Regions from separate parts of the Homo sapiens genome. Here region 2 is linked to region 1. The links are contacts of gene promoters, found by promoter capture Hi-C in blood cells and fetal thymus (Javierre and others, 2016). All regions are on one chromosome and are shown on one strand. Each heading gives the region's core, a stretch centred on a gene start or on the middle of the fragment in contact. The rest is flanking DNA. Distances are from core to core; before and after follow the strand shown.

Region 1 (6,453 bases), core at 1,122-3,621:
ATGTAGCCCCTGTGGCTGCCTAGCTAGGCTGCAGCTTACAGCCTGATCTTACTCAGCAGTTGCCCTAGGTTCCCCAATTAGTATGATGGGGTAGAGCAAGGGAGAAGGGAGACTAGAGTCAGTGGCTACAAGTTTAAATGGGTATAAGGACCTAGCAATGTAAATGAGTCAATGACTGAAATGAACTGGGTGGGCACTACAGCCAACTATAGAGTGCCAGGGGAACATATGCCCAGAATATTCCTAAGCCTGCTGATTTTTCCAAAAGAAACTAGCACTCTGGATTTTTAAATGTTGGTAACCAACTCAAAATTTTTTCACACACTATGAGATTAAATAAAGCATGATGGTGGACTTCATTCAGCATGGGCTGTCGCTTTGCCACTTAGATTCAGCTAAGTGATCTCAAAGCTCTCTTCCAATATCCAGAAAGACCTAGAAAGAGTACAGAGCCTCCCAGGTCATGAGGGATAAGTGCTGACTGCCATCAAAATCAAGATGTCTTTACAAACACAGGGAAGCTGAGGGGCATCTTGACTCCTAGGGCAGTAAGTATGAACGTGGTCATGAGGAGCCCACTCAGTGAAAAGGGAAGAGAAGATGCTCTCCAGTTCCACAGGAAAGGCCAAGACTGGTCTGTGACCTCCAAAGAGAAAAAACTGGGAACTCTTAAAGGCTGTCAGGCCCATTTGGCTGACAGTCCAAGCTATGGCTTAAAGCAGTCTGACCTGACCTCACACATAAGGGCTTAAGCCAGGGAGAGCAAATAGGTTTCATTTAAAGCAGAAACTTCAATCAACTGGAAGTGGCTGCCTAGAGTAGTGTGCTGAGGGCTCTGAGTACAGTGTGAATATGTGCTGAGAACCAACCAATTAGCCATGACTGCCAGGGACACAGGAAGGGGCACTGGCAGCACACATTCCATGTATTTGTCACCCCTGGCTTAAACTCCCATTGGCAATGAATCAGCTTCAGCTTCCAGCAGATAGCCTTGCCAGGCAGAGGAAGACTAAAGCTCCTGCCCTGGAAATCCACTGGCAATAGAAGTCTTCAAGGCTGGTATAGCAAAGCTTACCCTGCATGGTCTTCATTCACACATACATACATCAAGTATTTACTGCTTTACATCAAGTGTTTACTGCTCTAGACTGGGCAATGGGGAAACAGAGGTGATTGAGACACTGTTCCTGTCCTGGAGATGTTCACAGTCTAATGGAAGAGACACACACTTCACAGATAATTATGATCAAATGTGGTAATAGGAGAAGTTATGGGAGCTGAGGGTTGGGGGTGACTTAATTTGCTTAAGGGAATTGAGCAAAGTAAGAGTTGAAATTTTTTTAAGTTAAAGAAGTTCTCTTGGCAAAGAAGGTGAAGGGCAAGGAGAGAATATTCTAAGCTGAGAGAACAGCATATATAATGATGGAAAACCAAATGGCCTACCCAGGAAACGAGGAAAACCTTGACAGCCCTGGAGTGTGAGGTGCATGAAGATTAGGCTGCAAAAGGAGTTTATGAAGGACAAGGTGTTTGGACTTTACAGGTGCTGGGTGCCAATGAAAGTTTTCAAGCAGAAGGCATAATCAGATTTGTAGGTGAAACAGATCACACTAGGTGCAATGTGTGTGTTCATGCTGGGAAACTGAAAAGGCTTCTGCGAAAACCCTACAAGAAAGAGGCCGACTGAAAAGATATTAAAGAAATTAAAGATCGGAAGATCCTTGGACGTGGAAGAATGCAAGAGGAATCAGTGGGTAAGTAGGTAGGTAGGTAGGTAAATGGGATGATCGTGCCACTGACTTCCATAAGACATAAGGAAAGAAGTGCAGGTTTGGGGCAGAACACAATAGCCAGTCCCATCCACTGGGTTCCAGAGGTAACAATCATTAGGGAGGTAACAAATTAGATATGCTTGTTCTAGATGGGAAGGTAGAGATTGAAACACTATTTTTAAGGTCGGGCTTCAAGCTCAGGCCCTCTTCACTTCTTGCCAGGGCCCCAGACCCTCTATCCTTTCCTCTGTGGTCTCCAGACCTTTCTATGACTCTCCCACCTCCAAAACCTCCCTCAACCCCCTCACCTTCAGACCCTTCTAAGGCCCTCCTCATTCCCAGGGCCCTCTATCGCCTCCTCATCCCCGACCCCTGTATGACCCTTCCCATCTCCGGCCTCTACATCCTTTGACCGTCCCTCACCCTCCACCCCCACATATAAGCTTCTTTCTCCCCTCTCACCTTCCCCAGCCCCCTGTGTCACCACCACCTCCTAAGTCTCCAGCCCAGAGCCTGCGTCTCAGCTGCCCCCGCCCCGCCACCCGGACTCACCCACCGAGACACCCACTTCACAACAGGGCGGAAGTGCTCCCGGGCTCGTGCGGGGAATGCTGGGACGCGGAGTCCGAGCGGCGCCACCCTGGGAATGGAACGTCTGAGACCACAATTCCCAGAAGGAACCGCGCGAGCGCCGGGGGCGGCCCCCTCCGTTTGCTGCCTTTCAGACGTCTTCAGCCAATAGATATGTCATCTTCTAACGGACCCTGGCACTGGAACAAATCGGAACGGGCGCGACACATGGGGGCGGGACCTGTTGCGATCCTGGCCTTTTCCATAGGCTTCCGGATAACAGCACCGCCCAATGGGAGGGCACTCGAGCAGAAGGGGGCCCAGTTCTACTGAGGGGTCGAAGTGAGAGCCTCAGACCCTGAAAGATCAAAGCAGACACAATAAGAAATAAGAAGAGAGAATGACTAGAGGTGACCAGCCCGATAGGCAGGAGAGAACTGGACAGTTGTAGCTTTAATTTCCAGCTTACAGCTAAGCTGTGTGACTTTGGAAGAATTCTGAACCTCGTTCTCTTCAACCATAAAATGAGGGTAGTAATGGCATCCATGTCACAGAGTTTTGTGAACTTTCAATGAGATAATACACCTAAAACGATTAGCTCAGGGCCTGGCTCCTAATAATGCACAGCGATTGTTAGCTATTATTATGTAAATCAGTTAGTACAGAGCTTGGCACTTCCTAGGTGTTGGAAGAATGTTAATCATTATTACAAAATAATCCTCATATAAATGCGGGTGCTCTGTACCACTGTGAATACTTTGGGGCATGAACAATCTAATGTGGTGTTGAGAATGGGGGCTTTGTAGTCAGACATGGATCCAAATCCCAACTCAACTACTTCGCAGCTGTGTGGCCTTGAACAAATTACTGCCATCTATTTTGTCTTTGGAATTTTCATCTATAAAATGCAAGTAATGTAAGAGAACTTACATCACAGGGTGTTATGAAGGTTAAATGAGACTATTTAGGTAAAAGTCTCTGAAGTCAAGCTGCTTGTGTCTGAAAGTTCTTACTTTCAAATGAAGGATGCAGGTCATACCACCCGCGTTGTGAAACCTTGGGCAAATTACTTAGCTTCTTTATGCCTGCATTTTCCCAGCTGTAAAATGGGAATGATAATACTTGCCTCTTCCTGAGACAGTTGTTGAGAGGAATAAATGGGAGAAGGTATGTAAAGAGCGTGACACATGTCTGACACACAGAAAGTGTTTAATAATCATTAGCTAGTCCAGGCACGGAGGCTCATGCCTGTAATCCCAGCCCTCTGGGAGGCTGAGACGGAAGGATCGCTTTAGTCCAGGAGTTTGAGACCAGCCTGGGCAGCGAAGTGAGACCTCGTCTCTATTTTAAAAAATAGAAAATACAATAATATACATAATCATTAGCTATTATTATTATTACCAATGGTTATGCGGCTTAGGGAAAATTGACAATACCTAGCATCTGGTAAGAGCTCAATGCATGTTGGCTAGTGTTAAAATAGGAGAATTCTTAGCTTTAACGACCCAGTTTAAATTCCTTCTCTGTGAAACATGTTCCAACTTATTTGTAGTAATAACTCATGTGATTTTACTCAGTAAACATAATAACAACCCGTAAATACTCCTTGGTGTTGAAGTCTCACAGTAGCCCTATGAGATTGGTATTGTTTGCTCCACTTTACAAAGAGGGAATGAGACTTAGAGAAACGAAGTGACCTACTCAAGATCACAGAGCCAATAAGAACCAGGGCTGCGATTTGTCACCCCCTAGGCATGTGACTCCAAAGGTCCTACACTGCATGAGGAAGAGACCATATGTGGAAGTAGGAGGGTTTGAGATGGGGAGGGACAGTGCAACAGTGTGGGGTGCCAAGGGAGCCGGAAACATTTGAGAGAGTGTCAGGATCTGAAGCTGGAGAGGCAGCTTTGCAGGGTCAGGTAAGGACGTGTCCACTTCAGCATCATCTGCCCTAAGAGGAAGAAGGGAGGCGAGTGTGCAGAGAGAGGAGAGGACATCATTAGGACACAAGAGGGCGCGCCTCGCCCTCAATACAGCCTCGAATTATTCTATGGTTTCCCTTAGCCTTTGTCTAATTAAAGCCTGGCATTCTACAGAAGAGAAAAAACTAACGAAGTCCTCAAGAGGCCAACTGCCCTTTAGTGCCGTGTAGAAATAAGCAACAGAGCCTGAACCTGTTCCAGGTTCTCTCTGGTTCAGCACCCATCAGGATTTGGTTTGCAAGCGTTCTGTCTGCATTTGTCTACCAGGACTCTCTCTGATTTGGGCAGACACTAGGCTCTAAGGATGCAGAGATGAAGCAAACCTGGTCTCTGACCCCAGGGCCTGATCTCTAAACTTTCCCAATAGAGCGCTCCCATAAGTGAAGCCTTTTTGAGTTTTTGAGTTGAGCACACACTCCCAACATATGTGTATTTATTTACTTATAAATGATGTGCCTGTAATAGCTAACTTTCCTTGAACATTTGCAATGCATTATTAGGTCCTTCTCTCAGTGCTTTATATGTATTAACTCATTTAATACATCCAAAACCCTTTGAGGGAGAGTCTAACACTATCCCATATTACAGAAAAGGAAACTATGGTATAGAGAGGTTAAATAACATGCTAACGGCACGTGGCTAAAAAAGCAGGCAGTCTAGCTTCAGAATAAGGTAAGATTTTTAAAAAATAGAAATAGAAGTTATAACAGTTTCTTTGCAACCATAGTGTGATAATCTTGTGCACTCAGCTTTGGAGACCACTATTTCTGTGGCTTTCAGGCCTGTGATCAGTCCTTTGAGAAAGGGAGGTGCAGGAAATTGTGGGAGCCCAGGGGCAACAGTTATCTAGGCTGGGAGATCAGGAAAGGCTTCTGAAGAAAGTGATGGCTGAACTGCATCTTAAATAATACTTAAGAGTTCCCCAGGGAAAAGGTATTTTTCAGTGCAAGAACAGCATATGCAATGGCCCAGAGACAAAAGGTGTGATGATGTCCTGGGACCCACAGGTAGTCTAGCATAGTCAGAGTACAGAGTGACAAGGGGGTAGGCTTCTCCTCCCAGTGTTGCTATGAGGCTTAACTGGAGATAGATGGGAACAGGCCTTCATGTTTTTTATTGAGGGAACAGGCAATCAGTCTGCTGTCTCCTGGGCAGCATCCCAGCTTTTTGATCCTTAGCTGCCAATCCCTCTATAACCCAGATGGCAAAAGGGGTCCCTTGGCCCCTTGAAGATCTGGTTGAACTTGACCTGGACCCCATTCCACAGCTTAGGACTGGCCAAAGGCTTCTCTCTTTGCCCTCTCTCTCCATGAATTTCCAACCTTATTTCCTCTGGACTACAGTTTCTGTGAATCCAACCCTTTCACCTTCTGCCTCATTGTACTCCAGCCCGGACAACAAGAGCAAAACTGCATCTCAAAAAAAAAAAATTCAATCAAGCCAAGCATTCATGGATTTAGTACATTTATTGAGGGTTTGGAGATCTTGAGATTACATTACGTACCACATGGCCACCTGCCATCTCCCAGATTTTCTTATTCAGCCTCCAGAGCCTTCCCAAAGCCTGTGTTCCCATTTGATTCTCCCTTGCACACACAGTAGCCCCACCTTCTACTAAAAACTGAGTTCAGTCTCATAGCCCACACATACTCACTATCTCCCTGCCAAGCTGGCTTGCTTTTCTTACCCCCACCTTCCAACACACACGCACCCATTCTACCCTACCCCAGGGTGCTCCAGCCTGCTCCCTAACCAAGCCCAGAAGTCATTCTTTCTTTCCTCTTCCTTGGGCCACATGCAATAGTCTCTTCAGCGGAGCAACCAGGCCAATCTGTGGCAGCAAGGGAGCTAGTGGCGTAAGATGGGCTCCAGGAAGACCAGCAGTAGCCCTTGGGGGGTGGGGGACAGCCAGCAGAAAGGAGGTGGCCAGGAGGAGCTCCAGGCATCAGCAGGGGGTGTGCAGGGCCTGGTGACTCAGCACACAGAGCGTGACCCAGCTGCCCACCATGCTGTCTGCTGCATTGTCAGCCACATCCTTGCCTGGCTCAAAATCCCACTCATGGAGGCAGAGTGGCAGCCCCCGGCCAGCTGGAGGGCAGTCCTCTAGAGCAGGCAGCAGCTCCTGCACC
Region 2 (5,842 bases), core at 1,528-4,027, 360 kb after region 1:
CCCTCAGTCTAATGAGAAAGATGGACTTCCAACAACAATCACAGGGGGACCTGGCAGAGGTCACAGAGGACCCCACAGAGTAGACACAATTACTCCCATTTCAGAAAAATGGAGGCTCTGACAGCTTAAATGACTTGCCCAAAGACACAACTACCAATGACATAAAATTTAAGATTTTTTCTTAAATGATTTCCAAATCCAGAAATTTGTAACAGACTCTGGACAACCAAGTTATCAGTGCCATTTGCCACAGTGTAGGCAGGGATCTTGCCAGGCAGATCCTAGAGTCACCACTGAAATGTGGATGATGATGACTGTGCCCTCTGAGAGGCCTCTTCTCCCATCACTGCACTTGCTGTGCTCCAGTTACTCCAGTTGCTCTGGGCTCCCCAGGTAAACCCTACTTCCCTTCCCATACCTCCTACTTTCCCCCATGCTATTCCCTGAGGCCCCAAATTTGCAAATTCCTATTTCTCCTTTAGATCTCAGCTAAAATGGCTTCAGGGAAGCCTTTCCTAAAGCTCCATGCTCCCTCAAGCTTTGCTTTCGTAGTATTTACCATAATTCATAAATATTTGTGAAATATCTGCTCAGGCCTGTCTTCCCTGAAGACTATAAATTCCATGAGCCCAGGGGATGTGTAGGTCTTGTCATCCCCATCTCCTCAATGCCTAGCAGGCTGGCATCCATTAGGTGCTTATTCAAATAATATTTTTAAATAAATGAATTAAAGAATGGGGAATATATGAGTGATGAGAAAGAGAAAGAATGACAAAGGGGAGAAAAAGGATATGAATGGAAGCCATCCAAAGGGCATAGATGGAAGCAACAGAGAAGACCAGCAGAGAAAAAAGGAAAGGCGTTTCAATACCTTAGCCAGAGCAGGAATGAGTAAAATTGAGAAAGAAAAGTCGCAGTTTCCATAAGCAGAAATAGTGCTCATATATTTGATAAAAAGTTAATAAGCTATTAGTCCCATTAATAAAGAAAAATATGTACATTATGTAAGTTAAGAATGATAGCTATCCAATCTTCAGGAATTCATTCATTCAACAAGTACTTATTGAGCACCTACTAATTGCCAGGCTGTGATCTAGGAGCTGGAGATGCAGCAGTAAACACACACACAAAATAAAATTCCTGTGGTCATGAAGCTCCCATTCTAAGAAGGGGAGACAAAGGAATACTGTATATCCTTGTTCATATAACTGAACATTCTTGTTTATAAACTTTTTGTTGATGAATAAAATTAACCTCAAGTGGTCTGAATTATTTCCCTTAGCCCCACTCATTGAAAAACATTAAGCTAATGTTTAAAGATGAGTGGAGGGGATGCTCTATAAATGAATCTACAAGGATCTTTGGGAAAATAAATTTTAAAGATTCTTCCATGGTAAAGAGAAAAGGCACCCTTGGATTATAAGAAGTTAGCATTCCCTCACTTGTTATTAGTGGTGTAAATTTTAAAAAATTAGGTGAAAAAAGATTTTAAATCTTCACATGACATAATGCAAAGCTACGCTTTTACTATTTATGTATCTATTTAACTTTTTTTTGAGACAGAGTCTCACTCTGTCATCGAGGCTGGAGTGTAGTGGTGTGATCTCAGCCCACTGCAACCTCTGCCTCCTGGGTTCAGCGATTCTCCTGTCTCAGCCTCCCGAGTAGCTGAGATTACAGGTGCCGGCCACCACACCTGGCTAATTTTTGTAGTTTTAGTAGATACAGGATTTTGCCATGTTGGCCAGGCTGGTCTCAAACTCCTGACCTCAGGTGATCCGCCACCTCGGCCTTCCAAAGTACTGAGATTGCAGGTGTGAGCCACTGCACCCAGCCTATTTTTTTTTTTTTAAGGAATCTGTGAAATAAATATTCTAAAAGCTGTGGCAACAAGCTTGTAAATCTCAGCTATTTTTACAAGTCTGAGTGGAAATGGACAAGCATCTGCAAAAATCCAAGATGCCCAGTCTGCCAGCCACTAGGCCCCTCTGTGAGAGAGGGCAGGGGGTTCCTCATTTACAAAGCATACCACCACCACTTCATACCTTATCTGGGAGGCAGGTGGCATGATTGCATTCCCATTTTACAGATGAGAAAACTCAGAGAGGGAAGGTGACCTGCCCAAGGCTCTAGGGGGAGTTAGTAGAACTCTGGGCAGTCCCAGACAAGGAGCCTCCTGGCTGCACCTAGCTGCCTTCTTCAAAGGCACATATGTCTGACAGAGCCACAGAAAAAACAAGGTCAAACATTGAAAAAGGTGCACGGCCTTGATGGAATCCCTAAATAATTCTTCAACTTTTAAAGAATAAATCAATAGGCTGGGCGCGGTGGCTCACGCCTGTAATCCCAGCACTTTAGGAGGCGGACACGGGCGCATCACTTGAGGTCAGGAGTTTGAGGCCAGCCTGGCCAACATGGCAAAACCCTGTCGCTACTAAAAATACAAAAATTAGCTGGGCGTGTAATCCCAGCTACTCAGGAGGCTGAGGCAGAAGAATCGCTTGAACCTAGGAGGCAGAGGTTGCAGTGAGCCAAGATCCAGCCATTGCACTCCAGCCTGGGTGACAAGAGCAAAACTCCATCTCAAAAAAAAAAAAAAAAAAAAAGGCGGGTCGCGGTGGCTCATGCCTGTAATCTCAGCACTTTGGGAGGCTGAGGTGGGTGGATCACGAGGTCAGGAAATCGAGACCATCCTGGCTAACACGGTGAAACCCCGTCTCTACTAAAAATACAAAAAATTAGCCGGGCATGGTGGCGGGCGCCTGTAGTCCCAGCTACTTGGGAGGCTGAGGCAGGAGAATGGCGTGAACCCGGAAGGTGGAGCTTGCAGTGAGCCGAGATTGCGCCACTGCACTCCAGCCTGGGCGACAGAGCGGGACTCCATCTCAAAAAAAAAAAAAAAAGAAAAGAAAAAAAAATCATCCAGTCTGGCCAACATGGTAAAGCCCTGTCTCTACTAAAAATACAAAAAAATTAGCCAGGCATGGTGGCAGGCGCCTGTAATCTCAGCTACTCAGGAGGCTGACACAGGCGAATCATTTGAACCCGGACGGAGGTTTCAGTGAGCTGAGATCGCACCACTGCACTCCAGCCTGGGTGACAGAGCAGGACTCCATCTCAAAAAAAAAAAGAAAAGAATAAATCAATAATTCGTACAAAAATATTTTAAAAGACAAAAATGAGATAAAAAGAAAAAAAAACCCTATGGCCAAAATCTCACTTGTGAATATATAGGCAAAAACCTGACATGAAATCTTAGCTAACCAAATTCACAGTCATATTATCTCTAAAATGAAAGGTGCAGACAACAGGAGAGAAGTCAATCACTGGCTTCATAACATGGAAAATATAGATCTACAGTTCAAGTTTAATTTTCCCAATACATGTCAACATACCATGAAGTAGCCCGTAGCATCTATTCTTTATTAAAACTACAGACAAAACAAAACCCCACAATGAAGAGAGACTATTTTAAATAATGATCCAACTCTGACTTCATTGAGATACACTGAAGTTCAGCCCTGTCATTTTCCAAATGGAGAAACTAGAGAAACAAGGCTCAGAGAGATTAAGTAGCTTGCTTTGCCTAAGGTTACTCAGCTGGTCTATGGCAGAGCCAGGTCTCAAACCCATGTCTTCTGATTCCAAGTCTGAAGCTTTCTGTCATCATTCCCATTTTATATATGATGAGAAATGCTAGCAATAGCTATCAGAAAAAAAGAAACAAAAAAGCATAATACATAGAAGATGAAGAAATAAAATATTACACTGCAGATAACGTATTTGCCCACCTGGAAAATCTTAAGGGGGTGGGTGTGGTTACTAGAGGAAATCAATGAATTTTAGAATGCAAGCCAGCATCTCAGCTCAAAAACACAGGGAAAAGTTTTCACTCACAATAGTAGTGAAAGCATTAAGCTATTACATTCTTGGATGTACTTGGGCCACAGTAATACTTATTCAAATAAAACAATAAAAAAATAATAAAACCAGCTGGGCGCGGTGGCTCACGCCTGGAATCCCAACACTTTGGGAGGCAGAGGTAGGCAGATCATGAGGTCAGGAGGTCGAGACCATCCTGGTTAACACGGTGAAACCCCATCTCTACCCCATCTCTCCAGGCATGGTGGCGGGCGCCTGTAGTCCCAGGTATTTGGGAGGCTGAGGCCTCCCAAGAGAATCGCTTGAGCCTGGGAGGTGGAGGTTGCAGTGAGCTGATATTGCACCACTGCACTCCAGCCTGGGCAACAGAGCGAGACGCCGTCTCAAAAAAAATAAATAAATAAAACCTTCATGGAAGAAATAAAAGATATGAAGTTTACACTGTCCTAGCTAGAAAAACTTAGTAAAGCAAAAAAGAGAATTCTCCCTAATTTAATAACTAGATTAAATAAACTATTACTAATTAAAATCCCCAGGATGTTTTTCTAAACATTAGAAATAATGTGATAAAAGAATAAATGTGAGCCTATCAAAGAATAATAATAAAGCAAATGACAAACTCAGTTTTTGTTAAATAATTTATACAAAAGAATATTTGTATCATGTCTAAGATATAACGAATGACAATAAAATGAATATCTGTGTACTTACCACCCAACTGAAGAAAGATAAAATTTCCAGTATCTTTGAAACTCCCTATGTGCCCACTCCAATGACATCTCCTCTTTCCTAACCTCTTTAGAGGTAACCACCATCCTCACTTTCATGTTCATCATTTTCTTACTTTGTTTTCCATGAGTGTACCTAACCCTAAACAATGTATTGTTTAGTTTTGCACACTTTTGAGATTTATATAAATTATAGAGTATGTAATCTCTACAAGTTCACAATACACTGTATAGAATTCACTGTACAGAATACACCATAATTTATGTTTCTGCTACCCTGCCAATAAACATTAAGGTCATTTCCAATGTTTTATATTATAAAGATATATATGTTCTGATATATCTCCTCGAACACACATGCCAAGAGTTTCTTTACAATATAGGCCTAGGAACTTGCTGTAATGTAGGACATACATATGTGCAAATTTATCTGAATAATGCCTACTTGTTTCCCAAAGTAGTGATACACCACTGCCACCTAGCAGTGCCTAAGGACCCAACTACACCATATCCTCACCAACAGTTGGCATTATCATGCTTTTAATGTTTTTCTAATCTAGTTGTTATGAAATGGTATCTCGTTTTCACTTTTATTTGCATTTCCTTGATTACCACTGAGCACCTTTTCAGTTTATCTTCTGTGAATTGCCCGGTAAAGTCTCTTGCCTGTATTTCTATTGGGTTGCTTTTTTCCTTATTTTCTTGAGATTCTTGTTTGTCTCTATTCCTTACTTAAGAATTCTTCAGGCCGGGCGCCGTGGTTCACGCCTGTAATCCCAGCACTTTGGGAGGCCGAGGTGGGTGGATCACAAGGTCAGGAGTTCAAGACCAGCCTGGCCAACATGGTGAAACCCCACCTCTACTAAAAAAAATACAAAAATTAGCCAGGCACGGTGGCGTGTGCCTGTAAACCCAGCTACCTGGGAGGCTGAGGTGGGAGAATTGCTTGGACCTGGGAGGCAGAGGTTGCAGTGAGCCGAGCCACTGCACTCCAGCCTGGGCGACAGAAAAAGACTCCGTCTCAGGAAAAAAAAAAAAAAATTATTCATATATTTTGTCTACTAATCTCTTATCAATTATATATGTGTTTCAATATTCCCCCCAGTTTGCCTCAGCTGGTCTATTTCTTATGCTGGGATCAAAACTAAACTATTTTAATTACTTTCTGTGTTAGAAGTTATATTATCTTATTTCTATTCTTGTAGTGGTTACTCTATACATTTACATTTTAA

The links. The method cuts DNA at HindIII sites, captures the fragments that hold promoters and counts their contacts. A CHiCAGO score of 5 or more calls a contact.
Region 2: a contact is called between a fragment that was not itself captured here and the fragment with the promoter of ZSCAN20 in region 1, in 1 of 17 cell types (endothelial precursors). The highest score is 5.8, in endothelial precursors.

The regions. Positions count from the first base shown.
Region 1 is chr1:33,468,563-33,475,015 of GRCh38, reverse strand. ZSCAN20 (zinc finger and SCAN domain containing 20) reads right to left here and starts at 2,371. Exons shown (of 8, transcript NM_001377376.1): 1 at 2,325-2,371. It also overlaps the pseudogene TLR12P. RefSeq lists a silencer at 4,114-4,408 and enhancers at 5,798-6,322, 6,323-6,453. The HindIII fragment of the contact is 14,362 bases long and covers 2,218-6,453 here.
Region 2 is chr1:33,111,417-33,117,258 of GRCh38, reverse strand. All of the region lies in intron 10 of AZIN2 (antizyme inhibitor 2), which reads right to left. Among named protein-coding and RNA genes, the nearest start is that of AZIN2, 33 kb to the right of the region's middle. The HindIII fragment of the contact is 1,762 bases long and covers 1,897-3,658 here.